Linked DNA regions of Homo sapiens: regions 2, 3 and 4 are each linked to region 1. The links are contacts of gene promoters, found by promoter capture Hi-C in blood cells and fetal thymus (Javierre and others, 2016). All regions are on one chromosome and are shown on one strand. Each heading gives the region's core, a stretch centred on a gene start or on the middle of the fragment in contact. The rest is flanking DNA. Distances are from core to core; before and after follow the strand shown.

The links. The method cuts DNA at HindIII sites, captures the fragments that hold promoters and counts their contacts. A CHiCAGO score of 5 or more calls a contact.
Region 2: a fragment that was not itself captured here is called in contact with the fragment with the promoter of SP9 in region 1 in 5 of 17 cell types (naive B cells, total B cells, total CD4 T cells and 2 more); the score reaches 22.0 in naive B cells.
Region 3: a contact is called between a fragment that was not itself captured here and the fragment with the promoter of SP9 in region 1, in 10 of 17 cell types (naive B cells, total B cells, total CD4 T cells and 7 more). The highest score is 33.0, in naive B cells.
Region 4: a contact is called between a fragment that was not itself captured here and the fragment with the promoter of SP9 in region 1, in 2 of 17 cell types (naive B cells and total B cells). The highest score is 17.9, in naive B cells.

What each region holds. Positions count from the first base shown.
Region 1 is chr2:174,332,917-174,337,710 of GRCh38, forward strand. SP9 (Sp9 transcription factor) reads left to right here and starts at 2,038. Exons shown (of 2, transcript NM_001145250.2): 1 at 2,038-2,197; 2 at 3,191-4,794. The coding sequence starts at 2,177. The coding sequence ends at 4,624. It overlaps LOC102724194 (a long non-coding RNA gene), which reads right to left and starts at 2,060. Exons shown (of 3, transcript XR_427194.5): 1 at 824-2,060; 2 at 641-709; 3 at 78-144. RefSeq lists a silencer at 3,970-4,179. The HindIII fragment of the contact is 13,141 bases long and covers 1-4,794 here.
Region 2 is chr2:172,069,178-172,073,971 of GRCh38, forward strand. It overlaps METAP1D (methionyl aminopeptidase type 1D, mitochondrial), which reads left to right. Exons shown (of 10, transcript NM_199227.3): 6 at 1,730-1,893. Among named protein-coding and RNA genes, the nearest start is that of DLX1, 14 kb to the right of the region's middle. RefSeq lists an enhancer at 2,614-4,344. The HindIII fragment of the contact is 1,811 bases long and covers 1,050-2,860 here.
Region 3 is chr2:172,085,376-172,090,169 of GRCh38, forward strand. It overlaps DLX1 (distal-less homeobox 1), which reads left to right and starts at 132. Exons shown (of 3, transcript NM_178120.5): 1 at 132-615; 2 at 1,279-1,478; 3 at 2,628-4,299. The coding sequence starts at 303. The coding sequence ends at 2,882. RefSeq lists enhancers at 1-391, 241-360, 392-1,003, 1,618-2,229, 2,843-3,454. The HindIII fragment of the contact is 3,945 bases long and covers 106-4,050 here.
Region 4 is chr2:172,110,086-172,114,879 of GRCh38, forward strand. No RefSeq gene overlaps it. Among named protein-coding and RNA genes, the nearest start is that of DLX2-DT, 9.5 kb to the left of the region's middle. The HindIII fragment of the contact is 7,472 bases long and covers 1-4,794 here.

The DNA.
Region 1 (4,794 bases), core at 788-3,287:
CATTTCCACTACAGTCTCCCAGGGCACAGCACTTCATTGACAGCCACACGAGCCTTCTCGTTCTCTTCTCCTCTGTTCCTTCTCTTTCTCTTCTCCTCTGTTCCTTCTCTTTCTCTGTCATAATTTCCTTGGTGCTTTCGCCACCTTAAACAAAAAAGAGAAAAAAATAAAATAAAAAAAACCCATTCTGAGCCAAAGTATTTTAAGATGAATCCAAGAAAGCGACCCACATAGCCCTCCCCACCCACGGAGTGCGCCAAGACGCACCCAGGCTCCATCACAGGGCCGAGAGCAGCGCCACTCTGGTCGTACTTTTGGGTCAAGAGATCTTGCAAAAGAGGAGAGAAAACACGGGAGGCACAGTTCCACATCCTTGTCACTTGCACCGGCTCCGCGACAACTCGTCGTTTGCACCCGAGGGTTTGGGGTTGGTAGTTTAATTTTTTTTTTTTCCTAAGAAGCAGGGTGTGGGTTTAGTGGGGAGTGTGCTATATTAAAACCAGTGCCCAGGTCTGCCCGAGGGCGCTGGTATTTCTGGTTCAAAAACAGCTTCTGGCTACCCTGGAGAAGAAAGAGAAAGCGGGGCCCAGAAAGAGAAAAACAAGCAGGTCAGCGGTTGCTGGGGGACTCGAAGACGCACCCTGGTCTGCTTGAGGACGCCTCTTTTCACACTGACAAGGTCCAGGGAGGACTTCAGGATGCTTCCAGCCTGCAAAATGTGGAAGCGCCCACGTGTGGCCTGGTCCTCCGCCCTCCCGGGTGAAAGTCCTGGAGAGATTTCTCGGGCGCGTCCGTGAAAGCAGGGCACTAATGGGGAGCCTACCTCTTAAAACAGCGCACTTGCCCTACGGACGAGCCTCTAGGCCCTGGTGGTCTGGAATGGGAGTGGGTTGGAGCTGGGACAAGAAAACTCCACTCCAGGATGAAACGCGACATGCAAATCTTCACCGGGTTAAACAAACAGCCGAGCAAGCTGCAGCTTCAGCGGAGGTGGAGGTGGGGGCGGACGCCGCTCGCGCCGGTCTCTGTTTCCAAAGTTGTTACAGTGAGAAAATAAGCGGCTTCGTGCAGCGTGTTGTATGGGCTGATGCCTCCCACCCCCATGCCAGCCCACAGCAAAACCCGGCAGATAATCAGCACATCCCACTGTTTAGTCATATTTGACAACTGGGTTAACCTGGTATCTAAGCGCTGGCGAAACCGTACAAAGGGTGCCCTCAATTACCACCAGAAGCCTCTAGCGTGAGTGGCACTTGTATTACCCCCCGGGTCAGAGGCCAGAGCGACAATTAGGAAGTCACTTACACCGCTGGGGGGAAATGGCGGGATGCAGCAGGCTCCAGGCCCTCCCAACAAATCTGTGGATGTAGATCTGTACAGAGAGGCCTATTTCGCTCCTCTCGGAGGAGCTGTCCCTTCGCGCCCCCTCCCCAGTATAACTGTGAGAGTGAAATTGAATCTAGTGGAATAAGGAATTGGGTAGAAGACACACGAAAATGATAAAAATCACAAGCAAGAATGATAGATACAAGCTGAAGTTGTGTTCTGTAGGCAAAAGCCTGGACACACAAAGTGAGGGCTCACATTTCCGTCTCCACTTGGGCCCTGCTGGTGCGGGCTGTGTCTGGGTGTCTCCTCCCCTCCTGCCTCCTTTCCTACAAGTGGGGAGTCGAGTAGGACTGTCAGCCCTAACTTGCAACATCTCGGGGTGGTTTGTGTGTGGGGGGGTGCTTGTGGCTCGGTTTCATTGGTACTTAAACCTGGCTTGGTGCGTGAGTGTAAATTTTTAATTGCACTGTAATTTCTTCAGTCCCCAGCCCGCCCTCGCCCCCCCCCCGCAAGTATCCCCCACTACTCCCCCCCACCCCCGCGGCCCTAGCTAGCTGACTTGACTGGCACGCGCCGGGAGCCCGGGCTCGGGCCCCTCGGAGCGTCTGATTGGCTGCGGGGCAGCTCCGGTCTGCTCTGCCTGCGCCCTCATTGGGCGAGAGGCGCAGCCAGCGGCACTTCAAAGCGGGTGCTCCTCGCACTTAGGCTGAGTTTAGCCGGCGGGAGCCTGGAGTCCGCTCGGCACGAGCGCGGGGACGCGGGAGCCGCGCGGGACCCAAGCAGTTTTTCCGAGCAGCCGCCAGGCTCAGCCCCGCTCCCAGCCTCGCTGCGCAGCCAGAGACCTGCTATGGCCACGTCTATACTCGGGGTAAGTCGCAAGCGCGGCAACGCATTTGCTTGTTTTAACCGGAGTAATTTTTCGTTATGGCTTCTGGGGTCTGCGGCTCCGGAGAAACTGTTGCTGCTAGACTGCAGCTTCAGCTTCTATTAGCACTTTCCACATTTCTGGGACTGATTTTTCCCCAAGTTTTTGGAACCCAGAAAGATGCCTTTGCAAGAAAAGGCCTTCTTAATCAAGTCCTTTTTCATTTGGTTTCAAAAAAAAGCTAGAGGTTTCTTTTCTTCCCCTCGTGATTTATACCCCATCCCCCGCATTGCTTTGGGGATTTTGTTGCAATTATGCGACAATGGTGTTTCCAGAAAACAGTCTTAATCGTTTTGCAGTCCATCTAGTCACGCTAATAAACATTTACATTTCCGCGGCTCCCCAATTCGCCCATGACTTTGAAATCTGTCTCTGGCCGCTTATCCTCGGATTATTGTTTTCATAATCGCTGTTTTTGTGTGTATGTAAACTTTAAAACCAAACGTTTTCTATTAAAAAAGAAAAGTCAAGTCGTAGCCACCCTGGGAGAGCTGCAAGTTTCGCCCGTCCCTGGCAGCTGTTTCGGCCGCCTCCGCCCTCACCCGGTGTTTGTTGTCTCTGGTCTCTGTGTTTACCTTCGCGCTTCACCCCGAAGGGCGACTTGGGGTCTTCTGGGAGATGAGCCGGTTTACGGCGACAACCCAAGTCCGGTTGTAGGCAGGGTTGCAGCGGGGAACACGGAGGCATCTTTGATTTATAGCCTCAGCGAAGTGCAACTTTCCGGCGCCTGGACCTTCGCCCGGGTGATCGCCCCTGCTCCGCGCCCGGTGCGGCGACTCCTCCGCGGGCGCGTGGGGAGGAGGCGCGAGGCGGGGAGCCAGGACCCCCCGGGAGCAGCCGCAGGGGACGAGGCTGCTCACGGGTGCACTTTGTTTCTTCCCCCACTTCCTCTTGCCCTCCTCCTTCTTGCTCCCTCCCCCATCCCACCCACTCTAGGAAGAGCCGCGCTTCGGAACGACCCCGTTGGCCATGCTGGCGGCGACCTGCAACAAGATCGGCAACACGAGCCCGCTGACGACGCTGCCAGAGTCGAGCGCCTTCGCCAAAGGCGGCTTTCACCCCTGGAAGCGCTCCTCGTCCAGCTGCAACCTCGGCTCCAGCCTCTCGGGCTTCGCGGTGGCCACCGGGGGCCGTGGCTCGGGCGGCCTGGCGGGCGGCTCGGGCGCCGCCAACAGCGCCTTCTGCCTGGCCTCCACGTCGCCCACGTCGTCCGCCTTCAGCAGCGACTACGGCGGCCTCTTCTCCAACTCGGCGGCTGCCGCGGCGGCAGCGGCCGGGGTGTCCCCGCAGGAGGCGGGTGGCCAGTCGGCCTTCATTTCCAAGGTGCACACGACGGCAGCCGACGGGCTGTACCCGCGCGTGGGCATGGCGCACCCGTACGAGTCCTGGTACAAGTCGGGCTTCCATTCGACGCTGGCGGCCGGCGAGGTGACCAACGGCGCGGCGTCGTCGTGGTGGGACGTGCACAGCAGCCCGGGCTCGTGGCTGGAAGTGCAGAACCCCGCTGGGGGGCTCCAGAGCTCGCTGCACTCGGGCGCCCCCCAGGCCTCGCTGCACTCGCAGCTGGGCACCTACAACCCCGACTTCAGCTCGCTCACGCACTCCGCCTTCAGCTCCACGGGCCTCGGCTCCTCCGCCGCCGCCGCCTCCCACCTGCTCTCCACCAGCCAGCACCTGCTGGCCCAGGACGGCTTCAAGCCGGTGTTGCCCTCCTATTCGGACTCCAGCGCCGCCGTGGCAGCCGCCGCCGCCAGCGCCATGATATCGGGCGCCGCGGCTGCCGCCGCCGGGGGGAGCTCGGCACGCTCTGCCCGCCGCTACTCGGGCCGCGCCACCTGCGACTGCCCCAACTGCCAGGAGGCGGAGCGGCTGGGCCCGGCCGGGGCGAGCCTGCGGCGCAAGGGCCTGCACAGCTGCCACATTCCGGGCTGCGGCAAGGTGTACGGGAAGACGTCGCACCTGAAGGCGCACCTGCGCTGGCACACGGGCGAGCGGCCCTTCGTGTGCAACTGGCTCTTCTGCGGCAAGCGCTTCACGCGCTCGGACGAGCTGCAGCGGCATCTGCGGACTCACACGGGCGAGAAGCGCTTCGCCTGTCCGGTGTGCAACAAGCGCTTCATGCGCAGCGACCACCTGAGCAAACACATTAAGACGCACAACGGGGGCGGCGGGGGCAAAAAGGGCAGCGACAGTGACACGGACGCCAGCAACCTGGAGACGCCCCGTTCCGAATCCCCCGACCTCATCCTGCATGACTCCGGCGTCAGTGCCGCCCGGGCGGCGGCAGCGGCGGCGGCGGCAGCGGCGGCGGCGGCGGCGGCGGCCTCCGCGGGAGGCAAGGAAGCAGCGTCTGGCCCCAACGACTCTTAGAGGCCGGGCGAGAGGCGCGAGCACACAAGCGAGTAGAGACACCGAGAACGAACGAGAGGTTCGGAGGGCGAGCGAGCGGGAGGCGGGAGGGCAGGGGCTTCAGTGACGCCCCCAGGGCCCGGGCTGGGCGCGAGGTGGAGCCGCTCAGGGCTCCCGGGCTGCGGTTCGCC
Region 2 (4,794 bases), core at 705-3,204, 2.3 Mb before region 1:
AAGGATTGCAGGCGTGAGCTACTGCACCCAGCCTCAAGTAATCATTTTCAAAGCTAGGAAAAAGTAATATGAAAAGATGAATAAAGATTTTTTAAAATAGTACATTTTTACTTAAAAAGCAGTTATATAAACATTCATTTATACATTTTCTTGACTACGCCTATATTAGCAAATTTTATATTCTTGTATTTTGAATGAAATCGTATTTTGTATTTTGAAATAGTATTCTTGTATTTTGAATGAAATATAAGAATATAAAAATTTGAATTTTTGAACGAAATCAGCATAGTCTTCCCTACTGTTTCCAATGTGTCCAAAGAGAATACTCTATTCCTTTTCTAAGTTTCCTGAAGACTTTTAATAGTTTCATTATTAACATTCAAACTATTTCAAAATTGTAAAACCTATGAAGCAAAGTGAAATACTGCCAAGTGTATAAAATAAAAACTCATACTTTCCTGGATTGCAAAGGACTGTAAGTGGGAGTAAATGTATAAAACACTATTCTGTTGCAAGGTAATTAAGATAATTTGATATAGTAGAGAAAACACTCGATTAGAAGCCAATAATCCATCATATTAACCTGAATCTACCTCTATATTCTGCCACCAACCTTAAACAAGTTACTTATCTGTGCCTCAGTTTCCTGAATTATAAACTGAAGATCTAATAAAGACCTTTCTTGCTTCCTTCACAGAATATGAGAGCATTTTTTAAGAAATGCAGAGTAGTATACAGATTTAAGACATTAATTCAGTATCACAACAGACTGAAAGCTCATATAAACATCTTTTTTATAACAGTTTCTACATTCTACCTTATGAGCAAGAGAAATGTGAAAAATAATTAGATAGGACAAATTTATGCAAAGTAGCAAATTCCATGCTACATCAAAGGATCAGTATCCAAACAGTTGCCTCTGCCTTTTATATTTACTATAGTGCTTGGTTATCAATGATTTATAATGAATCTGGTATCTTTCAAGATCCTACTTGGCTTCTGAATCACTGAAGACTGATAAAATTATACTTTCTGTAATTGTGCTTTTAAGCTTGTTTTATTATATTCTAATTCTTTAGATATCCATATATAGTGCTTTCTGTTAACGTTCGGCTGTCTGGAACATTTGATTAAGATTTCACTTCTAGACATAGGATTTTTCTGTAACACATTTCATTCCTATATGGAACCACTTCAATTCTTAGAACTGAATTCTCCTATTTGTTTGTTAGAATACAGACATGTCTATCTTACTTCTTCTTGTCATTATATATCACTTCAAATGTAGAACTGGTAAATACAAAATCAAGTAAGTCTTCATGACATTGAAGAAACTTTTCACTATGTTAAATACTTTTTGGTTCTCTAAACCTGTTGTGGTAATTGTAGATCAAGGTCTTTGGCTACTAATTTTTGCTTATATAATTTTGTCTTCTCAGAAATAAAGTGAGGAATCAAAATATTACAGTAGTATTGTTCATCATAATGCTGAAATAACCATACTAGTTAACATAGTTGTTTTTAAATTTTGCAATATCATTGCATGGCTTCATCTTTTAAATTTCTGCAAGGTTTCAATATATCTATTTCTTCTTTTTTTGATAGGCAAATGAATAATTCTGGAAGGGTAAAACATGAGTCTACTAAATACATAAATGAATACAATGTATACTTTAGGAAAGTAGATTTTTAAACAAGGACATATTTTTAAATTTCTGCTTATGTTTAGGTCTATTACAATGGCTACCATGGAGACACCTCTGAAACATTTTTGGTGGGCAATGTGGACGAATGTGGTAAAAAGTTAGTGGAGGTTGCCAGGAGGTGTAGAGATGAAGCAATTGCAGCTTGCAGAGCAGGGGCTCCCTTCTCTGTAATTGGAAACACAATCAGGTAAGCCTTACATTGACAAGTAAAGGGAGGGTTGGCAAATGGTACAAAGGTTATTGGTGGCTTGGTATAAAGTTGATGACATGTTTTATGATTCAGAACCATCATTTCAGTCTGATATCAGTATGTGAACTGCCAGGCTGCAATATTGTTCCCTGAGTTGAAAAAAAAAAAAGATTTTATAAAAATGAATTATACCAGGGTCAGCAAAGAAACTTATAGAAGGAGCAAGCAATATTTACATGGCTGCTTTTGTTTTAGCTTGACATACTGGTCTATAGTTTCCCTTTATTCAAAATCACACCAAATATGGAAGGGAGTACCTAAGAAGGGGATGAGCATCTCAACCCTGGGGTTTTTAATAAGACAGGAGAAAAACTAAATTTTATAAAGGAATGAAGTGAAATGTATTTCTGTGATATGAAGATAATAAAGTGTTAGTTCAAGCAAGCCTTACCTTTCAAATTGGTAGATTAACAAATAGCCTGAAACGGTGATCTTCTGTTCTTTTTTTGTCTGGTTCATTTTTCCTGTAAACCGTTGTTTATTTTTCACAGAGTATTCTATCCTTACTTTTTGAATGTATGTGTATGTGTGTTTTCTGAATTTAAGACTTTTCTTTATAATCTGTTACCTACTTTTAGGTCTTTTTTCCCCCATAACTGTTTTGAAGTAGACATGCCGAATATATGTTTTCATTTTAAAGTAATGCATTCTGTTAAAGATGATCACATCAGTGCCCTTTAAAGTACTGTTCTCATTAATATGAACCATTGAATACTTCCCATTTGTCTAAAGGATGGAAGGCTTAGTCACCTTGAAAAGATGCTGCCTTTTTTTCTTCGTAAGCCTTCAAATACTTTAAGAAAAAAGCCAGTAAAATATCAGTTAAATGTATTTATGGCTTTAAAAATATTGTAACAGTGTCTGAATCAAACTTTAGTAAAATCTCTTTGGGTTATATCTGAGAAGCTTTTATTGAAGACTTTGAACAAAATTGTGTTTTTGACAGTTTTAAATTATAGGCTAACTAGCCTGGGAAAAAAGGATAGTGTCTCTCTGTTCTTTCATAGGAAATGTTGAATCAGACCCCTACTGGGAAAAGAAATTTAATGCATATCTCACTATCTTACTGTCCATGAATATAATAGAAATGAATTCAAAATGCAGTTTTATTTTTGCAAATGGGATGAGTCGATAGATGCACCTCATATTTTTGAACACCTAGGGTTCAACAAATTTACTGGTGGTGCTCTTGCATTTTAACAAAATTTATTCTTCAGTAGAAGGGGGCAGAGAACACTAGATTCTTATTCAAGCATTCTATCGAGCTCTGCATTCATGGCTGTGTCTAAAGGGCATGTCAGCCTTTGATTCTCTCTGAGAGGTAATTATCCTTTTCCTGTCACGGAACAACAAATGATAGCTAACTACAGAGGCACATTTGCAGTAGTCACATTCATCAACTGCAGAAAAAAAAATTCAATTTAATTGTGCAACACAGCTGCACATGGGCTTTTGAGCATTTCTGTTGTTCTCCCTGTCTCGCTATTCCTCCCTCCAGATCTATTTTTTAAACTTTTTTTCTGGTTATTTTTTCCCCTTTTTGTCTCTTCTTCCATTTTTACTCTCTGTACTTTCTTGTTAAAGTAATTTTCCTTTGTGGCTCTCATTCTTTTTCCCCCATTGAAGGCTATGAATGTAGAAAATTATCACAATTACTCATATAATTGAGCCTCTTTGTAGCAAGTGCAACTCCAGTAGCCTTTCTCCATCATGAAAATGGTTTCATTATAGGGTTTTTCATATTCTCTGACACCATCTACACAGAGGAACAGGCGTGCAGATGAGATGTGCTAGGAACAGGCTAGATCAGTAAGGTCACAGTAGGAATAATTAGCTCTGCTATGGAAAGAGCATCTAGGCCTTTTACTGCTACATAAATGTACTGTCCATGGCTTTTAGTCACAAAAAAAACTTACTAACAAATGGAGCTCCCGCCTACTACTTTGAAAAAAAGATTTGTATCAACACTACAATTTTCCATCATTAAGACTAATAACACAGAGCCTAGTATACATCAAGGGGAATAAAAAGAAAAATCTCACATTCAAGTGGCGGCTGGGTGCTGACCTTTGTTCCCTTTTTTTGTGTACGACTTAACTCTTTACAAAAAAGAGCCACACGCCACACCAACATGCAGGTGAACTCCAGCTAGTACTAGCAAAGCATAGCATTCAGTTGGAAAATTTGATAAATCTCCATGCAGGATAATGCATTTCATTACATATTCACTACATTAATTCTAGCTACATTAAAAAAAAAAGAAGAAGAAGAAGAAGAGTAGAATTGAAAGTGACATTGGATTTTAGCTATCTGGATACAAAGGTCAGTTTTCACAGAGTATGAATTTGCATGTACAAGCTTTTTTGAAAACCAGATCAGTCAGTCCCAACAACTGCACTTAAAAAAACTATGTGGAAAATAACAGACAATGAACTTTTTACTTGTACCCTAATACATTTCATTATTTAGATGGTTTATGTCTGCCGCTAGAAAGGAAACTGGCCCCGATTCTAACAAATATTTGTTCTGATGTGTTAAAGCAGTGTTTCTGGACACCTATTATCTTGCCTTTTCTTATTCTGGCAAAATCTTAGGGGAATAAGTAAACAAACCATATTTACCTTTAAGCCAAAAGTACTTGAAATCATTACAGACCAAAGGTTTACAAACATCTTTCAACTCGGTCTTGTTTATTTTAAGATATTCACCATCTTTTGCGTAGCCTCTCTCTACTGATACACTAGGAAAAGAACAAGCAACTTGTATTAGTATCATGTTATCAAAAACCTTGAGATCTCTACAGGAAATTTTGGAATTCTCCTCTGAAACCTAAAGAAG
Region 3 (4,794 bases), core at 828-3,327, 2.2 Mb before region 1:
TCCAGCGGAGCCCGAGCGCCTCGGACCAATCCCCAGTGATTATGCAAGACAGCGGACCAATCAGCTCCGCCAGCTCATGAATATTTATGACCTTCGCTGAGTCAAAGCTTTGAACCGAGTTTGGGGAGCTCAGCAGCATCATGCTTAGACTTTTCAAAGAGACAAACTCCATTTTCTTATGAATGGAAAGTGAAAACCCCTGTTCCGCTTAAATTGGGTTCCTTCCTGTCCTGAGAAACATAGAGACCCCCAAAAGGGAAGCAGAGGAGAGAAAGTCCCACACCCAGACCCCGCGAGAAGAGATGACCATGACCACCATGCCAGAAAGTCTCAACAGCCCCGTGTCGGGCAAGGCGGTGTTTATGGAGTTTGGGCCGCCCAACCAGCAAATGTCTCCTTCTCCCATGTCCCACGGGCACTACTCCATGCACTGTTTACACTCGGCGGGCCATTCGCAGCCCGACGGCGCCTACAGCTCAGCCTCGTCCTTCTCCCGACCGCTGGGCTACCCCTACGTCAACTCGGTCAGCAGCCACGCATCCAGCCCCTACATCAGTTCGGTGCAGTCCTACCCGGGCAGCGCCAGCCTCGCCCAGAGCCGCCTGGAGGACCCAGGTACGTGCGCTTGCCAGGGAGAGGGAGAGGAGGAGGTACAAGGGAGAGAGGGAAAGAAGGAGCGGGGGAGAAGAGGAGAGGGAGAGAGAGAGAAAGAGAAGAGAGGAGAGCGAGGTGGGGTGGGGGTGGGGAGGGCGCGGGAGCAGTGGAGGTTTCGAATATCAATCTATAGATCCTTGTCACAGCAAATAAATTTTTTTAAAAATTCCCTCAATTTGCAACTATCCAGCCAAGGATAAATCCCAGAGCGTCTCCTGGCACTGGCTGGGCCTCTGGGCGGCTCGGTGTGCAGAGCACACAATGCCCCGCTGGAAAACAGAAACCCACATGTGCACGTATTAGTCTCGGTAATTATTTATTGCGTAGCGCTATAAACAATGTATGCAATTAAGGGTAATTAAACCTCAACTACCGCCTGCAAAAATAGCAAACTTTCCCTGCAAAGGCAGGAGCTGAGCTCCTGGGAACGGCTCTATCCCTCCTGCAGCGTCCCGGGACAGGCCCTCGGATTTTGGGGGACCCTTCCCTGGCTTTCAGAGTTTCTTGAACGTTCTCTCCCTGGTGCTGCCTCCGCCACCCTTCGGTAGCCACTCGCTCTCGGCTGTTCGCACTAAAGGCGGCCCCTCGTATTAACAACGGGCCCTACTTCTGCTGTCCCTCCAGGGGCGGACTCGGAGAAGAGCACGGTGGTGGAAGGCGGTGAAGTGCGCTTCAATGGCAAGGGAAAAAAGATCCGTAAACCCAGGACGATTTATTCCAGTTTGCAGTTGCAGGCTTTGAACCGGAGGTTCCAGCAAACTCAGTACCTAGCTCTGCCGGAGAGGGCGGAGCTCGCGGCCTCTTTGGGACTCACACAGACTCAGGTACCTCGCCGCTGCCGCTCCGTTCTGCCACGCAGGCTTTCCGCGGCCGGCCTGCGCCCGGGTCTTCATTTGTTGCTCGCTGGGACTCAGGGTCGGGGTGTCACTGTGTGTATGTGTTTGTGTCCACCCCTGGCTCTCAGCGTGTCTCCTTCCTCCCTCATTCCCTCTGCCCTAGCTCTGTCACTGCTCTCGGTATCCCGAGCTGCCTGCCGTCCGGCCCTCTGTCCCTGGACAATCTGATTAGGGCGCAGGAAGGATTTCCCCAGACGATTTGTTTGGGAACTCAGAGGTCACACGTGCCTAAACAACTGGAACAATAGACTCCGGGCTTAATCCCTCCTTTGCCTTTAAATTGTGTGACTAATCACTCGGGGCCTGGGTCCGCGCCTCAGCCTCCCTCCTCCTCCTCCTTCTTACCGGTTGGGGGTGGGGGGAGATCCTTTCCTCCGCCCTCTCACCTCTCAAGTCCCAGACCTTAGAGAAGAAACGGGACCTTCCTTCCCGGCTTTCTGTAAGACTCCGGGGAGCCCGTGAGCGTTCCTGACGGCGGCGGGCGCGGGTTTCCGACGTCCGGTCCGGGATTTGGAGCAGAGCTGGAGAAAGCAAACAGACACTAGTGCAAGAATGGTTTTGAATCCAAAGAGAAGTTCAGCAAAACCTTGAGGCCTCCTTAGTCCGTCCCAACTCAAGGGCAGAAAAGATGGCGCATAGAAAAGTTGGGTCGCGTTGCAAATAAATTTCCTCCACTCCTTCCTAGGTTTTCGATTCTTTTTATTGATGTTGATATTGGAATTGCTGGCTCGGTGTTATGCAGGCGCTGTATCTTCCGCAGGCGGTAGCCACGGTCGGACTGAGCCCCTGGCAGGCTAAGGCCTGGATCCCGGTTCTCCCCTCATCACAACTCCTCCCTGGCTCTCTGAGAGCTGCCCCCGTGGGCTGACGGCGGCGGGAGGTTCGGCCTTCGAGCCTTTGGCTCTTATGGGGGAAGGGAGGAAGGAGGGATGTCTCTGCTTCTCTGGCAGGGAGCTGCCAGCTGGCGCAGGGTTGGGAGGTCCTATCTCTGCTGTTCTGCGGTCCCTTTTTTCCTCCCTGTGACCTAGGTAGGCTCAGTGGTCCCAGCCTGAGTCACGTTGTTGTCCGCTCTTGCAGGTCAAGATCTGGTTCCAAAACAAGCGATCCAAGTTCAAGAAGCTGATGAAGCAGGGTGGGGCGGCTCTGGAGGGTAGTGCGTTGGCCAACGGTCGGGCCCTGTCTGCTGGCTCCCCACCCGTGCCGCCCGGCTGGAACCCTAACTCTTCATCCGGGAAGGGCTCAGGAGGAAACGCGGGCTCCTATATCCCCAGCTACACATCGTGGTACCCTTCAGCGCACCAAGAAGCTATGCAGCAACCCCAACTTATGTGAGGTTGCCCGCCCGTCTCCTTCTTGTCTCCCCGGCCCAGGTCCCTCCCGCCTCCAGGTCCATCCATCCCGTCCGGAAAAGAAGGACCCAGAGGGAAGAAGGAACAGTGGAGGCGGGACGCCCTCCATCTCCTCGGAGCCCCGCGAGGTCCGGCCCAGCAACTTCCCGGCATCCGCGCTCTAGCCTGAACCCTGGCCTGGGCCGAGCAGTGGCAGCAGAGAGTGGCCTCGGAGGGAAGCCACTGCCACCTGAGACAGCCCAAGCAGCAAGATAAACCCGCTCCACCCGACCCGCCGACCTTCAGCTTTGTGGGACTATCAGGAAAAAACAAAACAAAAACAAAATGTAGAAAAAGCAAAAGCTCTTTTCTGTCCTGTCAGTCTCCTGTCTCCTTTTGCTCTGTCTGTGCGCTGGTAAAGTCCAGGTCCTCATCCGTCCGCTGTCCTCATTCTGCGGCCTCAGCAAAAAGCCACAAGGTCTGAGCGGCCCGGGTCCTGCCGGGCTGACCATCTCCGGATCCTGGGACACTCTGCCTGACCATCTGTGTAGCTGGTGTGGGAATCTGGGGGCATTGGAGGGAGGGGGTTTTATTTATTGAGAAATGGACTTCGCCTGAGGCTGTTTGCCAATTCAGGGTTCTGCTGGGCGCAAGGAACGCACTGTTCAAACGCACTGTTTACTTTAAGCGCACGGGGAGAAACGAATAAGGAGGACGTGGTGATTTTTAATTTATACAGTAACTTTTGTACTTCTCTGGTATGGAGAGTTTGGAGCCGAATGATTTGCATTTTTTACATGTCCGACATTATTTAATAAATAATTTTTAAAAGAAAAGAACGATAAATGAAGCCAACATGATTTTCTCATTTCGGGAGGAACTCTGTTGCTTCGCCTGGACAAGAAGGAAAATGCTGATTTCCTCCTTGGGTAGAAAGAGGGAGCGAGGGCAAATGGGGAGTAGAGAGAAAACAGGCGAGAACAAGCACTCTAATTCCAGTGGGCTTTAAAATAAGACAAAATCAGCTTTACAACAATCCCTAGAGGCTCGACCACAGAATAATGCCAGTCACCACCCTGAACGCACAATCTCCAGTGCAGGATCTAATGACTGTACATATTATTGTTATTATTATTATTGTTATTATTGTTGTTCTGTAAACATGTTGCACAAGCTTAGCCTTTTTGCGTTCTGTTGTGTGTGGCTGTAAAACCCCATGCTTTGTGAAATGAGAATCTTGACATTTTTCTTGTGAAATTTGGAAAATGTGATCAATTGAAATCAACTGTGTTTTGTGTTCTCTATGTCAAAGTTTAGTTTTATATTGAGAATGTTAACTTATTGCTTTGTATCTTGGGAAAAAAACTTTGTAAATAAGTTATAAAGTTTCTTTGAGACAGTAAAATTATGATTTCTTGAAAGAACTGCTCTCTTGTGCTGTGTGAGGCTGTGCCAGGGGGCCAGGCCAGGTTCCCGCCTCTGGAGACAGTTCATACAGGGTCAGCGACTTATCAACTTATCGGTGATAGAATGGAGACCCTGTACCCCAGAAACACCAGGGTATCGTCAGAGGCCTGTGAGGTGCCCCATTGGGCTTTTTCTTCCTGCCTTGCTCCATTGACCCCCAAGGTGTCTGATTCCTACCTGAATTGGAAGGGTAAGGAGAGAATGCCTGGCGAGGGTTCCCCAGGAAGGGGGCTCAGGAACAGGTGCATCAGGGCAGGGCTGACGCTCAGGAACCAAAAGGATGTTGAAGACCGGCTGAGAGGAGATGAAGTCAGAGTTCAAAGTCAGCCGGCCAGGACGATTTCAGTTTTTCCCACACCCAGCCAGCTCTTGAGAGGCCGGGAGGTTGGGAGGCTGAGAGGCCTGAAAGCAGAGACACTGCTTTGCCTCTAGCCTTCCTCCGGATCAGG
Region 4 (4,794 bases), core at 774-3,273, 2.2 Mb before region 1:
TCACTCGTGTCTAAGCAGGCCTTGTCCTGGCGGCAGCCAAGGTGAAGGCAGACGCTGTTTCCGGGATCCAGTGGACCAGGCCAGGCCAGGGGATTTGGGCGTGGGCCTCCGAGGCGGCAGTGGGTGGTCCAGGGGCATTGTGAAGCCGTCAGGCACTGTGGATGGGGAAGTGCAGGGCCCGCCTGCAGCACTGAAGTTTGGAAAGGCCAAATACTGCTCCTAACCCGTGCGGCAAGGACTGCCCCATTCAGTAAGCGGGGCAAAGTCCCGCCTTGACAAGCCTCTCTGTAGTTTCCCTGTGTGCTACACCTGGGCTGCTTCTGCTCGCTTCTTTGAAAATGGAGAGGGGAGCAGAGGGAAGAACCTTGCAGGTTATTCACAGGGAACTGACCCTAGGCAGTCATGTCAGATTGTTTGCATGTACTTGTGCACGCGTTTTCAAATGCATAAAACCCTGTGCATGTTTCAAATGTGTAAACACGTAAGCATTTTTATTTGTATTTCTATTTCTTTTATTTATTTATTTATTTATTTATTTATTTATTTTCTTTTGAGACGGAGTTTCCCTCTTGTTGCCCAGGCTGGAGTGCAGTGGTGCATCTTGGCTCACTGCGACCTCTGCCTTCCAGGTTCAAGTGATTCCCCTGCCTCAGCCTCCCGAGTAGCTGGAATTGCAGGCGCGTGCCACCATGCCCAGCTAATTTTTGTAGTTTTAGTAGAGATAGGGTTTCACCACGTTGGCCAGGCTGGTCTCCAACTCCTGACCTCAAGTGATCCGCCCGCCTCGGCCTCCCAAAGTGCTGGGATTATAGGTGTGAGCCACTGCGACTGGCTAGCATTTTTATTTTTTAGAAATCTTGGCCGGGCGCGGTGGCTCACGCCTGTAATCCCAGCACTTTGGGAGGCCGAGGCGGGCGGATCACGAGGTCAGGAGATCGAGACCATCCTGGCTAACACGGTGAAACCCCGTCTCTACTAAAAATACAAAAAATTAGCCGGGCGAGGTGGCGGGCGCCTGTAGTCCCAGCTACTCGGGAGGCTGAGGCAGGAGAATGGCGTGAACCCCAGGGGGCGGAGCCTGCAGTGAGCCGAGATTGCGCCACTGCACTCCAGCCTGGGCGACAGCGAGACTCCGTCTCAAAAAAAAAAAAAAAAGAAATCTTTTCTTTCTATGTCAGTCGTTACAGAGCAATCATTTTCTTCTTAAGGTGAATGTGTGAGGAAGGTATCATCATTTATTTGACTATCTTCTTTGCCTTGTCATCTAGATGATTTCCGATATTTACAAACAACACATGAGTGAATGTCTTCTGGAGAGCTTTGCCCACATGTTCAATTATATTTGTAAACTAGAATCCTAGTAACTGAATTGTATGTCAACATTTTAATAGCTACCACTAAGCTCCCCTTAAAAAACAAGCAATTTAAGCTCTATACTCATTTCTGAGCACTCTCACCAAGAATATTAGGAATCTTCAGTGTTTTTTGAATATGATAGGCTTAAAATAGTGCCATATTTTAACTTGCAAAGGCTTTACATTAGTAGAGTGTGTGTCTTTTTTATTTTATTTTATTTTAGAGAGGGATGCTCTGCTATATTTTGTCCAGGCTGATCTTGAACTCCTGGGCTCAAGTGATCCTCCTGCCTCAGCCTCCAGAGTAGTTGGGACTACAGGCATGTGCCATCGCATGCTTGGCTTGTGTTTTTATATAGGCATTTTATTTTCTTCTGTGAATTGCCTATTTTTGTTCTCTGCCCATTTTTCTGTTTTTAAAAAATTGATTTACAGGAAATTATTACATATTTTGGAGATTAACTCATTATTGTGTTTATAGTCAATATTAATTCCAAGTTAATTGCTTCTCTTTTACTTTTGTTTATTCTCTTTTCTAGTTCAGAGATTTTAAGTTTTGTATGGTCAAATATGTGACTCTTTTTTTTTTATGGCTTCTGGGCCTTCAGGTCATGATTATAGATGCCAATACTTTTTTTTTTTTTTGAGACGGAGTCTCGCTCTGTCACCCAGGCTGGAGTGCAGTGGCGCGATCTCGGTTCACTGCAACCTCCGCCTCCTGGGTTCATGCCATTCTCCTGCCTCAGCCTCCCAAGTAGCTGGGACTACACGTGCCCGCCATCACACCCGGCTAATTTTTTGTATTTTTAGTAGAGACAGGGTTTTACCATGTTAGCCAGGATGGTCTCAATCTCCTGACCTCGTGATCTGCCCGCCTCGGCCTCCCAAAGTGCTGGGATTACAGGCGTGAGCCACCGCGCCCGGCCTATAGATGCCAATACTTTTAGATGTTAATACTTTTAGAGTTAATATATACAGTGGTTAAAAGTATGGGCTCTGGGCTTAAATCCTAACTTGGCTACTTGCTAACTGTGTAAATTAGGGAAAGTTATTTAACTTTTCTGTGCCTCTGTTTAATGTTTAATTGAACAAAACTTCACTTAGACTACTGAAGGATAGTTGTGGAATGGACCAAGTGTTGTCTCTCAAATCTGATTTTTGGGGAATGCAGCTAAACTACTCCCTAGCCCCCTTTGCACTTATGTGTAACCATGTCATTCAATCCAAGAGAATGGAACATAAGTGGAAGCCATGTGTGCCTCTCCCAGGACAGGACCTTTTAGGCAGAGTTGAGACTCCTCTCTGCTCTCTTTTTCCTTCCGCTGTCTGGAACCAGCTTCAACTATGAAGATGACATGGCCCTAGAGTCTCCTAGAGGCCCTAGGGGACTCACCGCCTAGGGGAATCTTCATCACTTGTTTGGAAGGTTATCTGACCAAGAAATAAACTTACATTTTAAGATACTGACTTTTGGGATTATATATATACACACACACATATATATACACACATATATATATGTACACACACATATATATATCTATACACAAACATATATATATGGCAGCTTATCTACTATAGCTAATACCATGACCTTGAAGTTAGGATGCAATGACTTTGTTAGGAAAAAATTACAGGAAAAAGTCCAGAACATCCTTTATCTGTGAAAACCAGATGAATGGGAAGCCAAGCACAGACCTGAAACCATTTGATTCCTAGGTGCATTCAGTCCATGAATAGAAAGAGGTTAGCATAGCTGGTTGTTATCCTTAGGAACATAAGTCTTTAATGATCATTAGTGGGGTTCTTTCACTTCTAAGCCCAAATCATATGCGTTTCCTTTTAAAGGTGATGGATTGCAGAAATTTTGTCACTGTGCCACATGGGACCCTCCCCTCCATGTCAGTGTCACTCTTGCCTTGGGCACATGCTTATTATGCTTAGGAGTTGTCATGGGGTGATAAGCCAACTTACTACTTTAGTCTTTTTTGGACGACAGTGCCTAGGATAATGGAATGAACAAGGCAAAGGCAGCACAAAGAGAAGAGGTGCTAATAATGAAATAACTTCAAATAGGAAAAAGAAAATTAAAAAAAAAAGGAAACTTCCCACTAAAAGGGCCCAAATGGCTTTCATTTGAGGAAAGTACGCAAACTTAAGTGAATGAACTTTGGGATGTCATTTTGGGCCATTTCAAGACATTGTTTTTGCCTATTTCCCAGTCCTCAGTTGTGTACTCCTTGCTGGTGTTACTACATAGCTAAGTTCTGAATTGATGATATGCTTTGGTTTCATTTAGAACTGAGCACAATTTATCACCACATTCCAGAAAAGATTGAATACTAAGGAGCCACACCAAGTCTTGTGTAAGACAGTGATGACACCCAGTGGTCATTTAGGGTCTTCATCTACATCGACCCAATTCATAGTAAAGCTAACAAATTGCACATATTAGTATACGAAAAGTGCTGTGTGTGTGACAGCCTGTGGGGGAAGGGGCAGCTAGACTTTACAGCTCTGACTGTTGTATCCTTGTAGTTTCATCTTGGGCATTTCTTTTTTTCTTTTTTCCTTTTTTTTTCTTTTTTTGAGACAGAGTCTTGCTCTGTCGCCCAGGCTGGAGTGCAGTGGCGTGATCTCAGCTCATTGCAAACTCCATCTCCCAGGTTCAAGTGATTCTCCTACCTCAGCCTCCCCAGTAGAGTAGCTGGGACTATAGTCCTGCACCACCACACCTGGCTAAATTTTTTATTTTTAGTACAGATGGGGTTTCGCCATGTTGGCCAGGCTGGCCTTGAACTCCTGATCTCAAGTGATCTGCCCACCTTGGCTTCCCAAAGTGCTCGGATTACAGGCGTGAGCCACCGCACCTGGCCTTGGACATTTCTTTTTTCTTTTCTTTCTTTTTTTTTTGTTTTTTTGAGATGGGGTCTTGCTCTGTTGCCCAGGCTAGAGTGCGGTGGTGTGATTTTGGATGACTGACTGCAACCTCTGCCTCCCAGTTTCAAGCAATTCTCCTGCCTCAGCCCCCTGAGTAGCTGGGATTACAGGAGAGCACCACCATGCCTGGCTAGTTTTTGTATTTTTAGTAGAGACAGGGTTTCTCCGTGTTGGCCAGGCTGGTCTAGAACTCCTGACCTCAGGTGATCCTCCCACTTCAGCCTCCCAAAGTGCTGGGAATACAGGCGTGAGCCACCGTGCCAGGCTGGGCATTTCTTACTATGCAATTACCTTCCCTGGTTGAACTCAGTAAAGGATTTCACTCTTATCTCTATTATACTTTTGATACTCTGTCATAATCCAAAGAATAGCTGCTGGAATCCTGAGATGTTTAAACAAGGTTTTACTTAAGTCTTGGGATAACAAAAGGGAAATAAACATCAAAAGTAACCTGGACCCAGATGGCCGAATACTGTAAACTCTGTTGGTATGAACCATG